Linked DNA regions of Homo sapiens: regions 2, 3 and 4 are each linked to region 1. Evidence: promoter capture Hi-C in 16 types of primary human blood cells and fetal thymus (Javierre and others, 2016). All regions are on one chromosome and are shown on one strand. Each heading gives the region's core, a stretch centred on a gene start or on the middle of the fragment in contact. The rest is flanking DNA. Distances are from core to core; before and after follow the strand shown. Region 1 holds the start of GUCY2D (guanylate cyclase 2D, retinal). Region 2 overlaps DNAH2 (dynein axonemal heavy chain 2). Region 3 overlaps DNAH2 (dynein axonemal heavy chain 2). Region 4 has its middle 13 kb from the start of CYB5D1.

The links. Contacts are between HindIII fragments. The CHiCAGO score rates a contact against its expected background, and 5 or more counts as called.
Region 2: a fragment that was not itself captured here is called in contact with the fragment with the promoter of GUCY2D in region 1 in 2 of 17 cell types (activated CD4 T cells and endothelial precursors); the score reaches 5.5 in activated CD4 T cells.
Region 3: a contact is called between a fragment that was not itself captured here and the fragment with the promoter of GUCY2D in region 1, in 3 of 17 cell types (erythroblasts, activated CD4 T cells and naive B cells). The highest score is 8.5, in erythroblasts.
Region 4: a fragment that was not itself captured here is called in contact with the fragment with the promoter of GUCY2D in region 1 in 4 of 17 cell types (M2 macrophages, activated CD4 T cells, erythroblasts and 1 more); the score reaches 6.0 in M2 macrophages.

The regions. Positions count from the first base shown.
Region 1 is chr17:7,999,804-8,004,228 of GRCh38, forward strand. It overlaps GUCY2D (guanylate cyclase 2D, retinal), which reads left to right and starts at 2,812. Exons shown (of 20, transcript NM_000180.4): 1 at 2,812-2,931; 2 at 3,236-3,965; 3 at 4,049-4,353. The coding sequence starts at 3,245. The HindIII fragment of the contact is 12,410 bases long and covers 1-4,425 here.
Region 2 is chr17:7,766,716-7,771,026 of GRCh38, forward strand. DNAH2 (dynein axonemal heavy chain 2) reads left to right here. Exons shown (of 86, transcript NM_020877.5): 23 at 1,185-1,346; 24 at 1,449-1,552; 25 at 3,537-3,693; 26 at 3,842-3,924; 27 at 4,038-4,218. Among named protein-coding and RNA genes, the nearest start is that of DNAH2, 51 kb to the left of the region's middle. The HindIII fragment of the contact is 2,502 bases long and covers 1,090-3,591 here.
Region 3 is chr17:7,748,099-7,752,211 of GRCh38, forward strand. All of the region lies in intron 12 of DNAH2 (dynein axonemal heavy chain 2), which reads left to right. Among named protein-coding and RNA genes, the nearest start is that of DNAH2, 32 kb to the left of the region's middle. The HindIII fragment of the contact is 7,689 bases long and covers 1-4,113 here.
Region 4 is chr17:7,868,474-7,872,937 of GRCh38, forward strand. It overlaps a transcript of NAA38 not described here. Among named protein-coding and RNA genes, the nearest start is that of CYB5D1, 13 kb to the left of the region's middle. The HindIII fragment of the contact is 6,423 bases long and covers 1-4,464 here.

The sequences.
Region 1 (4,425 bases), core at 1,562-4,061:
GATTGTTTACCACCAAAAACTAACAGATGTTAATATTTTGCCATATATATATATGATCCGCCAGCCTCTGCCTCCCAAAGTGCTGGGATTACAGGCATGAGCCACCATGCCCAGCCTATGTGTCTTGCTTAATAAATCCATTCCTACCCTGAATTGATAAAGATGTCTTTTCAATCTATGTCTTTTTTTCTCTTAAAAATTTCTGCTCTTTTTAAATTTTTCTATTTTCTTATTTTTTTTCTTTGTTCTTCAGAGCAGATCTACTTTCTTTGAATTCTATAATCTAAAATTTTTAATTAACTTTATTTGGAAATAATTTCAAACTTAAAAAATGTTGCAAAAATAAAAAATATGCAAAGAACACTCACAGGCTGTTTACCCAGATTCACCTATTGTTAGCATTTTACCCTATTTGTTTATCATTTGAAATAGATAATATATAAAACATACCATATATCATATCTAATATATATTTTTTCTGGACTGCTTGAGGGTCAGTTATATACATGATGCTTTACCATTAAATACTTCAGTGTGTATTTCCTATGAACAGGGATAGTCTAACATAACTACACTACCATTATTAACTTTATAACTTTATACTCTTTTGAATCTCCTGTGATATTCCAATTTTGTCAATTGCCAATTTTTTTGTTAATGTTGATGTTCTTTATAGCATTTTTATAACCCCATGCCGCCCTATAACCATTTTTCTTTTCTTTTTTTGTTTTTTGAGATGGAGTCTCACTTTGTTGCTTAGGCTGGAGTGCAGTGGCGCGATATTGGCTCACTGCAAACTCTGCTTCCCAGGTTCAGGTGATTCTCTTGCCTCAGCCTCCTGAGCAGCTGGGATTACAGGTGCACTCCACCACCCGCGGCTAATTTTTGTATTTTTAGTAGAGACGGGACTTCACCATGTTGGCCAGGCTGGTCTCAAACTCCTGACCTCAAGTGATCCGCCTGCCTCGGCCTCCCAAAGTGCTGGGATTATAGGCGTGAGCCACGGTGCCCGGCCTCAAGCCCTATAACCTTATAGCACTTTAAAAAAATCCAATGATACAGAATCCAAACTAAGGGCAGGTGTTGCATATAATTGTCATGTCTTTTTAGGTTTCTTTAATCTGAAACAGTTCCTCAACCTCTATTTGCCTTCTATGACATTGACATTTTTGAAGAATGCAGTCCTCCCCACCTTTTTAAATAGAACGTTTCTCATTTAGTGTTTATCTTATGTTTCCTTGTGATTAGATTTGAAATAATGCTGGAACATTGCCGAGACGTATTGTGCAGCACTGCATAGGTGTAGTATTATGTCCTTCTCAGGGTATCACATCTGGAGGCAAAGAATGTCTCTCTGCCCCTCATGGTTAATTTTGATCACTTGCTTAAAGTATTGCCCCATTTCTCCACTGTACAATGACTGCTTTTTATTTTATTCCCCACTCCCTTCCAACTCATGGCAATCTGGAGGGAGATACTTTCAGACCCTGCAAAAGTTCTGCTCCTCATCCAACATTTCCCCCAGCTTTAGAATCCACTGATGATTCTTACCTGATCCAATCTTTGCCACCAAGTCTGAAAATGATTCATTTAAAAGTTTTTAAGTTTTATTTTTCACATATAGGTCTTTGACCTGGAATAGATTTTGTGTATGGTGTGAGATAGGGATTGAATTCTATTTTCCCCCCAGATGGCTAATCAGCTCCATTTGTTGAAGTTTATTCTTTCCCAGTTGGTAAGAAATGTCCACGTCTTCACACATTTGCTGTGTTTGTTTCAGTACTGTATATTCTATTTCATTGGTCCATTTGTTTATCCTTGTGCCAAAACTATGAAGTCTTTATTGCCATAGCTTTATAATATATATTTATATAAATATATAATTGCTGTCACTACATAATGTGGATTTATATAAATATATAATATATAATTGCTATAGCTTTATAGTATATATTTATATAATTGCTGTTTTATATATCATATAATTATATAAATATATAATTGCTATGTTTTATATATTATATATTTATGTAGATATATAATTGCTATGTTTTATATATTATATATTTACATAAATACATAATTGCTATTGCTTTATAATAAATTTGTATATCTTATAGGGCATCTTCCATTATACTCTTCTCTAAAATTGTTAGCTATTCTTGCCATCCGGGCAATTATATTCATTTTCACAACAACCCTCAGATTAAGCAATTGCCCAAGGTCCAAAAATCAGCAAGAGGGACTTGGAACCCAGGTCTGTCGGAGGCCAAAGCTCTTTTCATTACTTCCTGAGGGTGGTTTTCTAGGCATGGAGAAGCAGAGGTCAGGGAATCAAGTGTGGCGAGAGAGAGAAGAGAAGTGAAAGAAGAAAGGCAGGTGTCAGCTTGGTGTGGGTTTGGTCTCTGGGATATAGACTTTGCCAGCCAAAGGATGGAGCTTGAACTTAGCTGGCAGAACTGGAAACAGAAGATTGTAAGGAAAGGGACTGGGATCAGTGTTTCTTCTCCAGGACGGATTACCCACAGCTGTCCACGGGCAGGCACTTGTTACTTTCTGGCTGAGCAGGGCAGTGTGGCCGACGGCTGAAAGGGGAAGCTGCGGCTGCTTTTGTGCAGGGGTGGTGGTGATGAGGGTGATGTGGGGGGCTGGAAGGCATGGAGGGGAAAGGATCTGGCTGACTACCTGGAAGCCAGGACAGATCCCACCCCAGAAAGGCGCAGTAGGGGCTCTCATCCTCCACTAGCCCGCCCCTCCCTACCTAATTAAGGACCCTAATCAGCTTGGGGAGATTAAGGGCTCTGGCCGGCTGTACCCACGCCCCCGCCCTGGCCTGGGCTGGCAAGGAAGACCTGTGGGCGGGCGTCAAAAGGGGGACCGGCCCTGTGACCCCTCACCGGGGGCCGTGGGCCCGAGCCCCCGGACTTCCCTGTAAATGTCAGAGGCCCCTCCGCTGGGATAGGGTCGGTCTGAGGGCGCAGGCGAGTCCCTGCTGACCCCTGACGCCTCCGACGGGGGGAGGGGCAGGCCGGGTGGGAGCGGGAAGCCGGGGCGGCAGAAGGGGGCTTCGGGGCGGTGTCCTTGGCCCCAGTTAGTCTTCCCAGCCTCCGGAGGGGGCGGTAGCAGCAGAATCATCCCATGGGTTACTCGGGCTTGGAGAAACTCGGGGTTACGGGGAGAACCCTAGGGGAGGCCGGGGTCTCAGTCGCTCAGCCTGCTCCGTCTGTGTTCGCAGAAGCCGGCAATGACCGCCTGCGCCCGCCGAGCGGGTGGGCTTCCGGACCCCGGGCTCTGCGGTCCCGCGTGGTGGGCTCCGTCCCTGCCCCGCCTCCCCCGGGCCCTGCCCCGGCTCCCGCTCCTGCTGCTCCTGCTTCTGCTGCAGCCCCCCGCCCTCTCCGCCGTGTTCACGGTGGGGGTCCTGGGCCCCTGGGCTTGCGACCCCATCTTCTCTCGGGCTCGCCCGGACCTGGCCGCCCGCCTGGCCGCCGCCCGCCTGAACCGCGACCCCGGCCTGGCAGGCGGTCCCCGCTTCGAGGTAGCGCTGCTGCCCGAGCCTTGCCGGACGCCGGGCTCGCTGGGGGCCGTGTCCTCCGCGCTGGCCCGCGTGTCGGGCCTCGTGGGTCCGGTGAACCCTGCGGCCTGCCGGCCAGCCGAGCTGCTCGCCGAAGAAGCCGGGATCGCGCTGGTGCCCTGGGGCTGCCCCTGGACGCAGGCGGAGGGCACCACGGCCCCTGCCGTGACCCCCGCCGCGGATGCCCTCTACGCCCTGCTTCGCGCATTCGGCTGGGCGCGCGTGGCCCTGGTCACCGCCCCCCAGGACCTGTGGGTGGAGGCGGGACGCTCACTGTCCACGGCACTCAGGGCCCGGGGCCTGCCTGTCGCCTCCGTGACTTCCATGGAGCCCTTGGACCTGTCTGGAGCCCGGGAGGCCCTGAGGAAGGTTCGGGACGGGCCCAGGGTCACAGGTAGGCTCCCTTGCAGGGTGCGAGGAGGTCGGCTGGTCCTGCCGGCAGCCGGACGGCGCCGCGAGCCAAGCCTCTGTCCGCAGCAGTGATCATGGTGATGCACTCGGTGCTGCTGGGTGGCGAGGAGCAGCGCTACCTCCTGGAGGCCGCAGAGGAGCTGGGCCTGACCGATGGCTCCCTGGTCTTCCTGCCCTTCGACACGATCCACTACGCCTTGTCCCCAGGCCCGGAGGCCTTGGCCGCACTCGCCAACAGCTCCCAGCTTCGCAGGGCCCACGATGCCGTGCTCACCCTCACGCGCCACTGTCCCTCTGAAGGCAGCGTGCTGGACAGCCTGCGCAGGGCTCAAGAGCGCCGCGAGCTGCCCTCTGACCTCAATCTGCAGCAGGTAGACGGTCCCGGGAGGAGGGAAGAAGGCAAGGGAGAGGGGAGAGGACAGCCAAAGCAGGGAGAGGAGGAT
Region 2 (4,311 bases), core at 1,091-3,590, 230 kb before region 1:
CGGCTCACTATAACCTCTGCCTCCCGGGTTCAAGCGATTCTCATGCCTCACACTCCCGAGTAGCTGGGATTACAAGCATCCACCACTATGCATGGCTAATTTTTATATTTTTAGTATAGAGATGGGGTTTCACCATATTGTCCAGACTGGTCTCGAACTCCTGACCTCAGGTGATCCACCTGGCTCGACCTCCCAAAGTGCTAGGATTACAGGTGTGAGCCACCACGCCCTGCCAAAATTAACCATTTTGAAGTAAACAATTCGTGACGTTTAGTAATTCATACCACATCTATCTAATTCCCAAACATTTTTATTACCCTAAAGGAAACTCTGCCCATTAGCAGTCACGTGCATCCCCCGTCCCCCGCCCCAGTCCCCCGTCCCCCGCCCCAGTCTGTTATGAGCCTGTTTTCCATGTGTATGATTCCCCTATTCTGGACACTTCATACAAATGGAACCATTTGTATGATAATACGTGGCCTTTTTAATCTGGCTTCTTTCGCTTAGCATAATGTCTTCAAGGTTCATCCATGGTGTGGCATGGATCAGTACTTTTTTAAATGGCTGAATATTCATATTTGAATATCGCATGAGTTTACCACATTTTGTTTACCATTCACCAGTTGATGGACATTTGGGTTGTTTCCACCTTTTAGCTAAAGGGAGTAGTGCTGCCATGAACACGCGTGTACTTGTATTTGTCTGAACACCTGTTCCCTATTCTTGTGAGTGTAAGCCTAGGGGTGGAATTGCTAGATCATATGGAAACTCTATGTTTAACTTTTTGAGGAGCTGCCAAGCCATTTTCCACAGCAGCTGCACCGTTTCACATTCCCACTAGCAGTGTACAAGTCTCCCTATTTCTCCATATCTCCGTGCCAACACTTATTTACCTTTTTTTTTTTTTTTTTGGTTCTAGCCATCCTAGCGGGTGTGAAGTGGCATCCCACTGAGGTTTTGATTTGCATTTCCCTAATGACTCATGACATTGAGGATTTTTTCATGTGCTTGTTCCTTGATAAGCTCTTAAGGCAACAGAGTGGAGAAAAATATGTGGACTGAGGAGGCCGCTGTATTATCTAGAGGGGAAGCTTCACAGAGCGAGAGCAGCGAAGGGCCTGGGCGTCCGTCAGGGAGGAAGAGGGCAGGTGCCACTTCATGCAACGCGCCTTTCTGCCCTGTAGGAGCTCGATGCCCTCCAGCAAATCTGGGAGATCGCACGAGACTGGGAGGAGAACTGGAATGAGTGGAAGACTGGCCGGTTCCTGATCCTGCAGACGGAAACCATGGAGACCACGGCCCACGGGCTGTTTCGTCGCCTCACAAAATTAGCCAAAGAGTATAAGGTGGGGAGAAACGGCGGGGAGGCGGAAGAGAAGCTGGTGGAGGATCTGGGTCTGTTCCCAGGGAGGTCGTCGGGTCTTCTCATGCCCCCAACTTTTGCTCAGGACCGAAACTGGGAAATTATTGAAACCACTCGCTCAAAAATAGAGCAGTTCAAGAGGACCATGCCTCTCATCTCAGACCTGCGGAACCCTGCCCTTAGAGAGAGGTGAGGCTTCTCCTCTGCTCCGGGGTGTCCACTCTGCCCCGCTGGCCTGCGCCACCACTTGGTCCCTCCCATTCTCCTCTCCGCAGTGTTCACAGCCCTCTCTTCCCCTCTGTCCACAAATGTATGTCTTTTTCTCTTTCCTCTTTTTAACATTTAATTTTGATGGACGCATGAAAATTGCATACACTTTGGTGTACAGCATAATGTTTTGAAATATGTACACATTGTAGAATGGCTAAATTGAGCTAATTATCATATGCATTACCTCACATACCTATTTTTTGTAGTGAGAGTACTGAAAAGCTACTCTCAGTGATTTTCAAGTATACAATAGATTGTTATTAACCATTGTTGCCGTGATGTACAGGAGATCATCCCTCTTGTCTAACTGAAATTTTGTGTCCTTTGACCAACACCTCCCGAACTTTCCACCTACCACCCCCAGCCCCTGGTAACCAGCACTCGACTCTGCTTCTGTGAGTTCAACCTGTTCAGACTTTACATATGACATATGAGTGCGATCATGCGGTGTTTGTCTTTCTTCGCCTGGCTTATTTCGCTTAGCATAATGTCCTCCAGGTTCTTCCATGTTGTTGCAAATGACAGGATTTTCTTCTTTCCTGAGGCTGAAGAGTATTTCTTTGTATATATACACCACATTTTCATCCTCCATTCATCGCTTGATGGACACTTAGGGTGATTCCACATCTTAGCTATTGCAAATAGTGCTCAGCGAACATGTGGCGCAGACACCAAGCCTGCCACTGTCCTCTGCTTCTTGCACTGTCTCGGGTCATCCAGCCTTGCTGGCTTCTTGTTCTCTGACCCCTGCCCTGGGGCCTCCCTCTCTCTGAAAGGGAGTTGTCTATCATGACTAAGTCTTATGTCTTTTTTTTTCCTTTTTTTGTGGGGGAGACAAAGTCTCACTCTGTTGCCCTGGCTGGGGTGCAGTGCTGTGATCTCGGCTCACTGTAACCTTCACCTCGCGGGTTCAAGCAATTCTTGTGCCTCAGCCTCCCAAGTAGCTGGGATTACAGGCACCTGCCACCATGCTCTGCTAATTTTTGTATTTTTAGTAGAGATGGGGTTTTGCCATGTTGCCCAAGATGGTCTTGAACTCCTGGCCTCAAGTGATCCGCTCGCCTTGGCCTCCCAAAGTGCTGGGATTACAGGCATGAGCCACCGTGCCCGTCCCGCCTTATGTCTTTTGTTATACAAAAGATTTTATTTTGAGGTAGCCAGAAGTATAACTTTCTTTCTGTATGGTTTTTGCCTTTGTGCCTTGTTTAGGAAGACCTTTCCTATCCCAAAGTTACAAATACATCCTCTTCATTCTTTCCTCTAATGCTTTGTGTTTCTCAGGTTTAACTCTTTTAATTCATCTGGAATTTATTATATGGCAGAGGATGTATCTCAAACCATTGGGGATAGATTTATAAAAATAAAGTAATTTTTATAAATGGTGTTTCAATCATGATCTATCCATTTAAGAGAAAATAATTTTACTTCTTTGTCTTTCTTCCAGTATAACGTTTTTGGCAATGCCAAACCATTAAGTGTTATACGGTTATGTATAACCTAACCACTTTATTTGCTTACATTATTTAACCTCTCTAAGCCTCAGTTTTCTCATCTGTAAATGGAATAATAATAATTCCTAATTTATAGAGTAGCCGTGAGAATGATATGAGATGTTTCATGTAAGGCCTTTACTCAGTACAGTTCTAGAGTAAACCTGCGGTGATTCATTGTGTGTTTTGTGGGCACACCTGCCTTAACTTCCTCTCCAGAGAATCCACTCCTGGAGGGTTTCACCTCAATCTTCGTATTCCCCTGGTGCCTAAGATTGCATCTTCGAGCCTGTTTAGCAAAATGAGTTGAATCATGAATTGGTAACTATGCAGAATCATAGTGTCCCAGTGGGAGACAGCAATGGAGTGATGGTAACTCTCCTGACCTCACACCCTCCTGTTCCTGGCTGCAGGCACTGGGACCAGGTCCGGGATGAGATCCAGCGGGAGTTTGATCAGGAATCTGAAAGCTTCACCTTGGAGCAGATTGTGGAGCTTGGGATGGATCAGCATGTGGAGAAAATTGGGGAGATCTCTGCTTCAGCAACTAAAGAGCTGGCTATAGAAGTGGTACGACAGTCCCCTCCCATGCTCCCACACCTCCTGCGCCTCCTGGAGCACAGGCTCCAGCTGTTCATCATCTGATGGCGCCTCTCAGCTCCTGTTCCCCTTAGTGAAGAGATACCTGACTGCTGTGTCCCCCAATTTCTCTCCACAGGCTTTACAAAACATTGCCAAGACCTGGGATGTGACTCAGCTCGACATAGTACCCTACAAGGATAAGGGCCATCATCGGCTCAGGTCAGGGGAGCTGGGGCTCTAGGAGAATGGAGGGCTGTGTGACCCAGGCTGCAGAGTGGGACCAAGGTTGGGCAGGTGGGGATGAACTATGATTTTGACCCCTTGTGTCTCAGAGGTACAGAAGAAGTATTCCAGGCACTGGAAGATAACCAGGTAGCTCTGTCTACCATGAAGGCATCACGCTTTGTCAAGGCCTTTGAGAAGGATGTGGACCACTGGGAACGCTGCCTCTCCCTCATTTTGGAGGTTATTGAGATGATTCTCACAGTGCAGCGTCAGTGGATGTACTTAGAGGTCAGGACTCAGCGCCTGAGCTCTTCCTGCTTCCTGCTCTTACTCCTTCTTTTTCTTAAGACCTAGATTTTGCCCTGTTATCAGCCTCATTCT
Region 3 (4,113 bases), core at 1,509-4,008, 250 kb before region 1:
GTTTTGGTATCCCACCTATATCCCAAATATTTGAACTCTGAAGTCCAAATTGGCTTTTATCACGTTTTACGGACAGAACAGCTTCACAGATTGCACTTAACACAAACATATTCCAGATGTCATCCACACCCTGGCTGAAGGAGCTGTATTATCACCCTGTGTGGAGCAGAGTAGAATTTCCTGAGAGGAGGAGACGAGATACTGAGGTCTGTTTTTTGTTCCCAGAGCTTCTCTCTCTTTTTTCCCCGGTCACAGAGTGCCTTTTCCCCCCGGGTCAGCCCGCTCTGGGCTCTAACCACTCAATTCCTCTGGCTTTCCTTTCTACCTCTACTGCCTGACCACTTGTTTGGAGATAAATTATGAAGTATTTTTAAAAAGTCATCCCCCAGACAGATTTTTATTTATTTATTTTTTTGAGACAAGGTCTCACTGTGTTACCCAGGCTGGAGTGCACTGGTGCAATCTTGGCTCACTGTAGCCTCCGCCTCCCGGGCTCAAGCAACCCTCCCACCTCAGCTTCCTGAGTACTGGGAACACAGGTGCCTGCCACCATGCCCAGCTAATTTTTTCTATTTTTGGTAGAGATGGGTTTTCACCATGTTGCCCAGGCTGGTCTCGAACTCCTGAGTTCAAGCCATCCACCCACCTCAGCCTCCCAAAGCGTTGGGATTACAGGCCTAAGCTACCTTGCCCAGCCTCGCCACACAGATTTTTTTTTTTTTTTAAAGAAAAACTGATATTTGTCAATGAAATAAAATTTGCATTCTGGAAATTTCTTGACAAACTTCAGTTAAAGACTGAACATCATTCAAAGTTTCTCCCAGGATTTTCAGCTCAGCATCAGGAAGGTATTGTCTGAATTCATCCTGTTGACTGACATATTAAACTTGGATAATTTGCCTTAAAGTTATCTTGAAAATCTTGCCTTGGCCGGATGCGGTGGCTCGCATCTGTAATCCCAGCACTTTGGGAGGCCGAGGTGGGTGGATCACCTGAGGTCAGGAGTTCGAGACCAGCCTGACCAACATGGAGATACCCTGTCTCTACTAAAAATACAAAATTAGCCGGGCATGGTGGCAAGCGTCTGTAATCCCAGCTACTCAGGAGGCCGAGGCAAGAGAATTGCTTGAACCTGGGAGGCAGAGGTTGTGGTGAGCCGAGATTGCGCCATTGCACTCCAGCCTGGGCAACAAGAGCTAAACTCCCCCCCAAAAAAAAAAAAAAAAAAAAAAAAAAAAAAAAAAAAAAAAGAAAGAAAAAAGAAAATCTTGCCAAGATGAGAGAATGAAGAATTTGTTTTGGTGCAATGTTGGCCAGCATACATGCCCAAGTAGGCTTGCTCAGATGTTTATCAACAGTGACAAATCCAAGACATCCAGTTTGAAGGACATGATAATACGTTTATGCTACTAGAAATGTTTCTGTATCTATTCACACACTTCCAATCTCCCCATATCATTATAACACAACTTTTTGTTACATTGATGTTTAGGGCTTATCTTATTATGACTCTATTAGGATTGTTCACTGCTGAGTTGAGTAATTTTACATTGTTATAGTTCTTTTGCTTGTACAATGTTTTGCTCAATTTGGAATTTAAAATTGCCTCATTATTAGGCCAGGTGTGGTGGCTCATGCCTCTAATCCCAGCACTTCAGGAGGCTGAGGTGGGTGGATCACGAGGTCAGGAGTTCGAGACCAGCCTGGCCAACATGGTGAAACCCCGTCTATACTAAAAATACAAAAAATAGCTGGGCATGGTGGCGGGTGGCTGTAATCCTAGCTACTCAGGAGGCTGAGGCAGGAGAATCTCGCTTGAACCCGGGAGGCAGAGGTTGCAGTGAGCTGAGATCACGCCATTGCACTGCAGCCTGGGCGACAGAGCGAGACTCTGTCTCAAAAAAAGAAAAATTACCTCATTATTATCGTTATTACTATTATTATTATTTGAGATGGAATTTCGCTCTGTTGCCCAGGATCTCTGCTCTGCTTCCCAGGTTCAAGCGATTCTCCTACCTCAGGTGATCCACACACCTCAGCCTCCCAAAGTGCTGGGATTACAGGTGTGAGCCATTGTGCCTGGCCACCTCATTATTTTTGCTAGCGCAGCATTCACTATCACTAAGTCCTCCAAACCAACCAATAAAATCCCTTTGAGTAGTATTTTTCCTCACAATCTGACATACTGGGTATTGGTTTCAATGTTTTTCTTAGATCTGTTTTTTTCCTGTCCTCCTGCTTCTGTCCAGCTGGTGTTGTTTTCAAGGCCTGTTACAAAGCAGTTACCCCGGGACTTCCCTCAGCCTCTTTCCTTGTTTGATTTCATGTTTCCTTTGTCTTCCTCTTTTTTGGTTTACGCCTTTGTTTTGTTGGTGTGTATCCATTAGTAGCTTCCTAAGAAATGGTGCAGGGGAGGTAAATCTTTTGAGTTTTTGCATGATTGACAACTGTTTTCCTGCCCTCTGCTTGTTGTACATTTGGCTGGGTTTGGAATTCTAGCCGATTTATAGTAATTGTCTTTGGCTTTGGCCTCTCTCTTTTACTTTGGAGGCTTTCCTTAAATGCCTGGTGATTCATTGCTCATTTATACTTTCAAGAGGCTTACTCACTTTGAAGATATTTTAGCAGTTTTAAAAATACCACATACGTTAGTGGAGATCTTCAGGGTTTGAAAAAACAGCATTTCTTCTTCCACAATCTCTTAAAGCCTGTATCACAAATAAGTGAGCACTTGAAAATCATTTCATTCTTGGAGGATTCTTCTCCAATAAAGACGGTAAAAACACAATCCTTTGCAAAGTTTGAAATGTGTTATTATCTCCAATATTGTTAATTCAGTGTAGAAAAGACTAAAAAAATTCTAGAATTTTCACCTCAATATTCTTTCCAAATAACATTTCAGCAGTATTTAGAATGCAAAGTTTCTTGAGCATATCTTCAGGTCGTGGGAATGTTTATCCTTTGTGATTAAAAAGTGCAATTTTATTTTAAAAGCCCTGCAGATTAAAAAAAATCAAGTTATTTATTTATTTATTTATTTATTTATTTATTCATTTTTTTTTTGAGGGGGAGTCTTGCCCTGTTGTCCAGTCTGGAGTACAGTGGCACCATCTTGGCTGACTGCAACCTCTGCGTCCTGGGTTCAAGCGATTTCTGGCTAATTTTTGGATTTTTAGTAGGGATGGGGTTTCACCATGTTGGCCAGGCTGGTCTCAAACTCCTGACCTGAAATGATCCACCCACCTTGGCCTTCTAAAATGCTGAACTTACAGGCATGAGCCACCACACCAGGCCAAGATTTTTTTTTAATTTTATTTTAAAAAATATTCCATATTTTCTTCTGGTATTTTATGATTTTATTCTCTACATTTAGATGTTTGATCCATTTGAAATTTATTTTGGTGTAGAGAAAGAGGTGCAGATTCAAATTGAGTTTTGTATTTCATTGTTTGTTTGTTTTTTCCTGATGGCTAGAGCCATCTCATTTAGAGTTGACCCAATCTCATTTAGTGAACTACTATCTTTATAGTAACACATTCCCGAGTATATTCGTGTCTATTTTGGGATTCTCTATTCTGGTATCTGTCTATTCATGTGCAGGAACCAAACTGTTTTAATTATTGTCCTCATTACTCTTCTTTCTTCAGAGTTTTCCAGGCTATATTTAATATTTATTTCCCATAAGAATTTTAGAATCAATTTGTTTAGTTCCAAAAATAGTCTCATTCCTATTTTTATAGGAATAGAGATTTGGTTAAATTTATAGGTTAACTTTAGAAGAATATCTTTATGATTTTGAGTCTTTCCAAGAATAGTTGTGGGGTGTGTGTGTGTGTGTGTGTGTGTGTGCGTGTTTTGAGACTGAGTCTTGTTCTGTCATGCAGGCTGGAGTGCAGTGACACGATCTCAGCTCACTGCAGCTAGGACCTCCCAGGCTTATTGATCCTCTTCCGCCTCAGCCCCCCAAGTAGCTGAAACTACAGGTGTGAACCACCGGGCCTGGCCAACAGTGTTTTTTCTTTCAATTTATTTAAGTCCTGCCTTTTCCCCTTAAGTCATTTTACACACACACACACACACACACACACACACACACAATTTCTGATTAATTTT
Region 4 (4,464 bases), core at 62-2,561, 130 kb before region 1:
CAGAATATTTAAATACCTTCCTTTGGATTCCATTTCTTCAACCATAAAATACAGATAATAGAAAGTAAGATGACAGTAGGGCAACAGGCAAGACCCAGGACATGGTACCCTAAAAAGATGCTACCTTATAGTGTTGTTGAGAAGATTAAATAAGGAATGGGAACCTGCCCAGCACTATAAAGAGTCCTTGGAAAAGACACTCAGAAAACCTTAGTTTTCTTTCCCATTCCTTGTGCTAGCCATTCTTTATTTAGTAATGAATCCTCCCCTCAGGATTTTGAGATTTGGCATTTTTCAGCATCCAGGTAACATCTCTCATGATTAGAAAATTACAGACCGTATCTGTGACTAACATTCAGTTTCCAACCTAACAATAGTGTTTATTCCTCCATTAGGAGAAGTTTTTGAGTCAAGTAAAATATGGTTTGTTTCATATCATGCCAGAATTGAGCTTCTTTATACAGTGATGGAAAGCAAGGGAATGGGGCCAACTACTGGGAGAAGAGTAACTAAAGTCAGTCCTTTGCTCCTAAAGGATTTTAAGGTGCTTAAGCTCGTAACTCAGGTTGTGAATCTTCTCACCTTGCAGTCATCTTAAGTGAACCTCTGAAGAGAGAAGTGGCTAACAGTAAACTTGATGGTTTAGAATGCAGCTACCAATTATCGAGTACCTTATTACAGCCAGTGCTTTATGTAAGTTAGCTCACTTAAACCTCACCACAACCCTTTGAGATAGGCATTAATACACCATTTTACAGATGGAGGAGCTGAGACTTGAGGGATAAATAGCTTGCCCAGGGTCATAGTTATTAAGTGGCAGAGCTTGGATTCCAGGTGCTACCTTTCTGACACCAAAGCTCAAACTCTTCCTCTAATGAAGTGAGTGGATAACTTTATTATTGACTCTGGGATACATTTTAGGAGTTCTACAGTTTTGGAATATAGAATAAGTTGATTTTTAATGTATTAATTATATCTCATTCAGTCTGAAATAAAAATGATGCTCAGTCGAGTGCGGTGGCTCATGCCTATAATCCCAGCACTTTCGGAGGCCGAGGCGGGTGGATCACTTCAGGTCAGGAGTTCAAGACCAGCCTGGCCAACATGGTGAAACCCTGTCTCTACTAAAAATATAAAAAATTAGCTGGGTGTGGTGGTGGATGCCTGTAATCCCAGCTACTTGGAAGGCTAAGGCAGGAGAATCGCTTCAACCCGGGAGGCAGAGGTTGCAGTGAGCCGAGATCACACCACTGCATTCCAGCCCGGGTGACAGAGCAAGACTCCGTCTCCAAAAAAAAGAAAAGAAAAAAAAATATTTTCCTTTACAGACTGGAGTGCTAGATGGTGAAAGGGCCCAAGAGCAAGTGAAGGGGTAAGAGGAAGCCAGTGTGGGTTAGCATTTCCCATGACAAATTTATAACCTAAAGGATAGTTAATCAGCTGGGAAAAGTGTGCAATTCTGCTGGAACAACTGGGGCTTGAAAACAGATGAAAAGCAAGATACTTCTAGCTGGCCAGCCAACAGAAAACTATTAAGAAATTGTTAAAAAGCAATGTCAAATGGGAAAAAGTTTGGTTTTTGCCATTTTGTATAGGATTATTCAGTTTCCATCACAGTGGTCAATCGAAGAAGATCTACAGCTGGGCATGGTGGCCCCTGTGCTTGTAACCCCAGCTACTCCAGAAGCTGAGGTGGGAGGATTGCTTGAGCCTGGGAGGCAGTTACTGCAGTGAGCTGAGATCATGCCACTGCACTCCAGCCTGGGTGACAGAGGAAGACTCTGTCTTAAAAATAAAATAAAATAAAATAAATTTTTAAAAGCAGATCTAAAAAACTTGCAGAAGGCAAAGACAACAATTACAACAATTTTAGGCTTACATCTTCCTCCTTCTGATTAAGATGATATTCCTTACTCAGTGAGAGCAAGGAAATGGATTTAGCTAAAAGGCAGCAATAGAAGGATGAGCAGACCAGATAAAATCTTTTAATCAATTAAAAAACAAAAAATCTTTTAATCGAAAAGATATATTGCAGTATTTGGGTTCTTTATTAGGTACTGGAGGTACAGAGAACTATTCCATAGCTCAGAAGTTGAGTTACTTCTATTTTAAAATTTATTTATTTTGGCCAGGCACGGTGGCTCACGCCTGTAATCCCAGCACTCTGGGTGGCCGAGGTGGGCAGATCACCTGAGGTCAGGAGTTCAAGACCAGCCTGGCCAACATGGTGAAACCCGGTCTCTACTAAAAAAAATACACAAAAATTAGCCCAGTGCAGTGGTGCACGCCTGTAATCCCAGCTACTCGGGAGGCTGAGGCAGGAGAATTGCTTGAACCTGGGAGGTGGAGGTTTCGGTGAGCCGAGATCGTGTCACTACACTCCAGCTTGGGGGCGACAGAGCAAGACTCCACCTCAAAAAAAAAAAAAAAAATTGTAGAAACGGGGTCTCACTATGTTGCCCAGGCTGATCTTGAACTCCTGGGCTCAAGTGATCCACCCACCCCAGCTTCCCAAAGTGTGGAGATTACAGGTGTGAACCACCACACCCAACCAGAAATTATTTTTCTAAAAAGATGCCACACCATCATATCGAGCTAAGCACATCTAGAAACAAATTCATTATGGCCTCTTAAAGCCAGCTTCTTTCTCAATTGCTATTAACAATGTCCAATTCTTGAGCCATCACATCATCTAATTTTCTTTTTTCAGGTCTACTGTGGTCCATGAGTTTAGGCATAAATGCCCACCTCTCAATAGCTCTGACCTTGAGCAAGATATTTAACCTCCCTTTGTCTGTTTTCTCATCTGTAAAATGAGTATTAGGATACTTTCTACTTTATAAGGTTATTGAAAGGAGTGAGTGAGTTAGTACATATTAAGTACTTAGTTCCTGGATGCAGAGTAAAACTCAATAAAAGTCAGCAATCATCATCCTATTGTTCATCTTTTGTACATATACTTTACTACTTTTGTATTTTTTTTCTATTGGTCTTTTTCTTATTGTTGATTTCTATGACATCTTTATTTCATCAAGAATACAAACACTAGCTCGCTATCTTCCTTTATACCCCCTTACTCCTGCTGTAATACAATACTGGAGTAATCCTGGAGCCAGTACCCGACCCCAGCAGCTTCTTGATCACTGAAGAAATAGGAAGTAGATCTCTGGTGGGCCAGGTCTAAAACGTTCTTCTTTCTTTGAGGTGGAGTCACTCTGTCGCCCAGGCTGGAGTGCAGTGGTGCAATCTTGGCTCATTGCAACCTCCGCCTCCCGAGTTCAAGCAATTCTCCTGCCTCAGCTTTCCGAGTAGCTGGGAATACAAGCACGCACCATGATGCCTGGCTATTTTTTGTATTTTTAGTAGTGATGGGGTTTCACCACGTTGGCCAGGCTGGTCTCGAACTCCTGACCTCAAGTGACCCACCCACCTCGGCTTCCCAAAGTGCTGGGATGGCAGGCGTGAGCCACCAAGCCTGTCCTTACAATCTTCTTGTCACTCTGGAAACCCTGTCTGTAGTTCTTCTTTGGCCCTTCCAATAATTTTGTAAGCCCTGGTTTCCTGGATAAAGTATCTTTCTGAGCTAGAGTAGTTTCTGTTATCTCTGAGCTCTATTAGAGCACACAGTATTTACTGAATAAAATGGTCTGTCATTAATGGCACAAATATTTTCCTAGCTAGTCTTTTAACTTTATGTTTTCTTACACAGTAAAATTTAGTTTCATTGAGTTAAATCTATCCACGTTTTCCTTTAAAGCATCCACGTTGATGCTTGTTGTACGCTTAAGGCCTTTTTCACCCCCAAGATCAGGAAAATATTCACCCACACTTTTTATATCTCATTCTAGTTCTCTAAAAAATTTTTTGGTCTTGCTGAATTGAGCAGAATTACATTTTTTGTTTTGTTTTGTTTTTTGAGACGGAGTCGCTCTGTTGCCCAGGCTGGAGTGCAGTGGCACAATCTTGGCTCACTGCAACCTCCGCGTTCAGGTGATTCTCCTGCCTTAGCCTCCTGAGTAGCTGGGATTGCAGGCATGCGCCACCACGCCCGGCTAATTTTTGTATTTTTAATAGAGACGGGGTTTCACCATGTCGGTCAGGCTGGTCTTGAACTCCTGACCTTGTGATCCGCCCACCTCGGCCTCGCAAAGTGCTGGGATTATAGGCCTGAGCCGCTGTGCCCGGGCAATTTTTGTTTTTAATGTCACTATTTAATCCATCTGAAAACTACTTTAGTAAATGGTAAGGATCTACCTTTTATATTTTCACAAATAGTTTTCCATTTATCAATTATGCATCATTATTTATCAATAATCCTTTGCCCCACTGATTTAAAGTATCACCTTTGCCATATATTAAACACTTGAAGCAGTCAACAGGTATTTCCAGGGTGCCTAATGTGTGCCTGGCCGTGTGCTAGACTGATACGACAGTGGAGAAGGGTGACAGGGCCCCTCCTCTCTG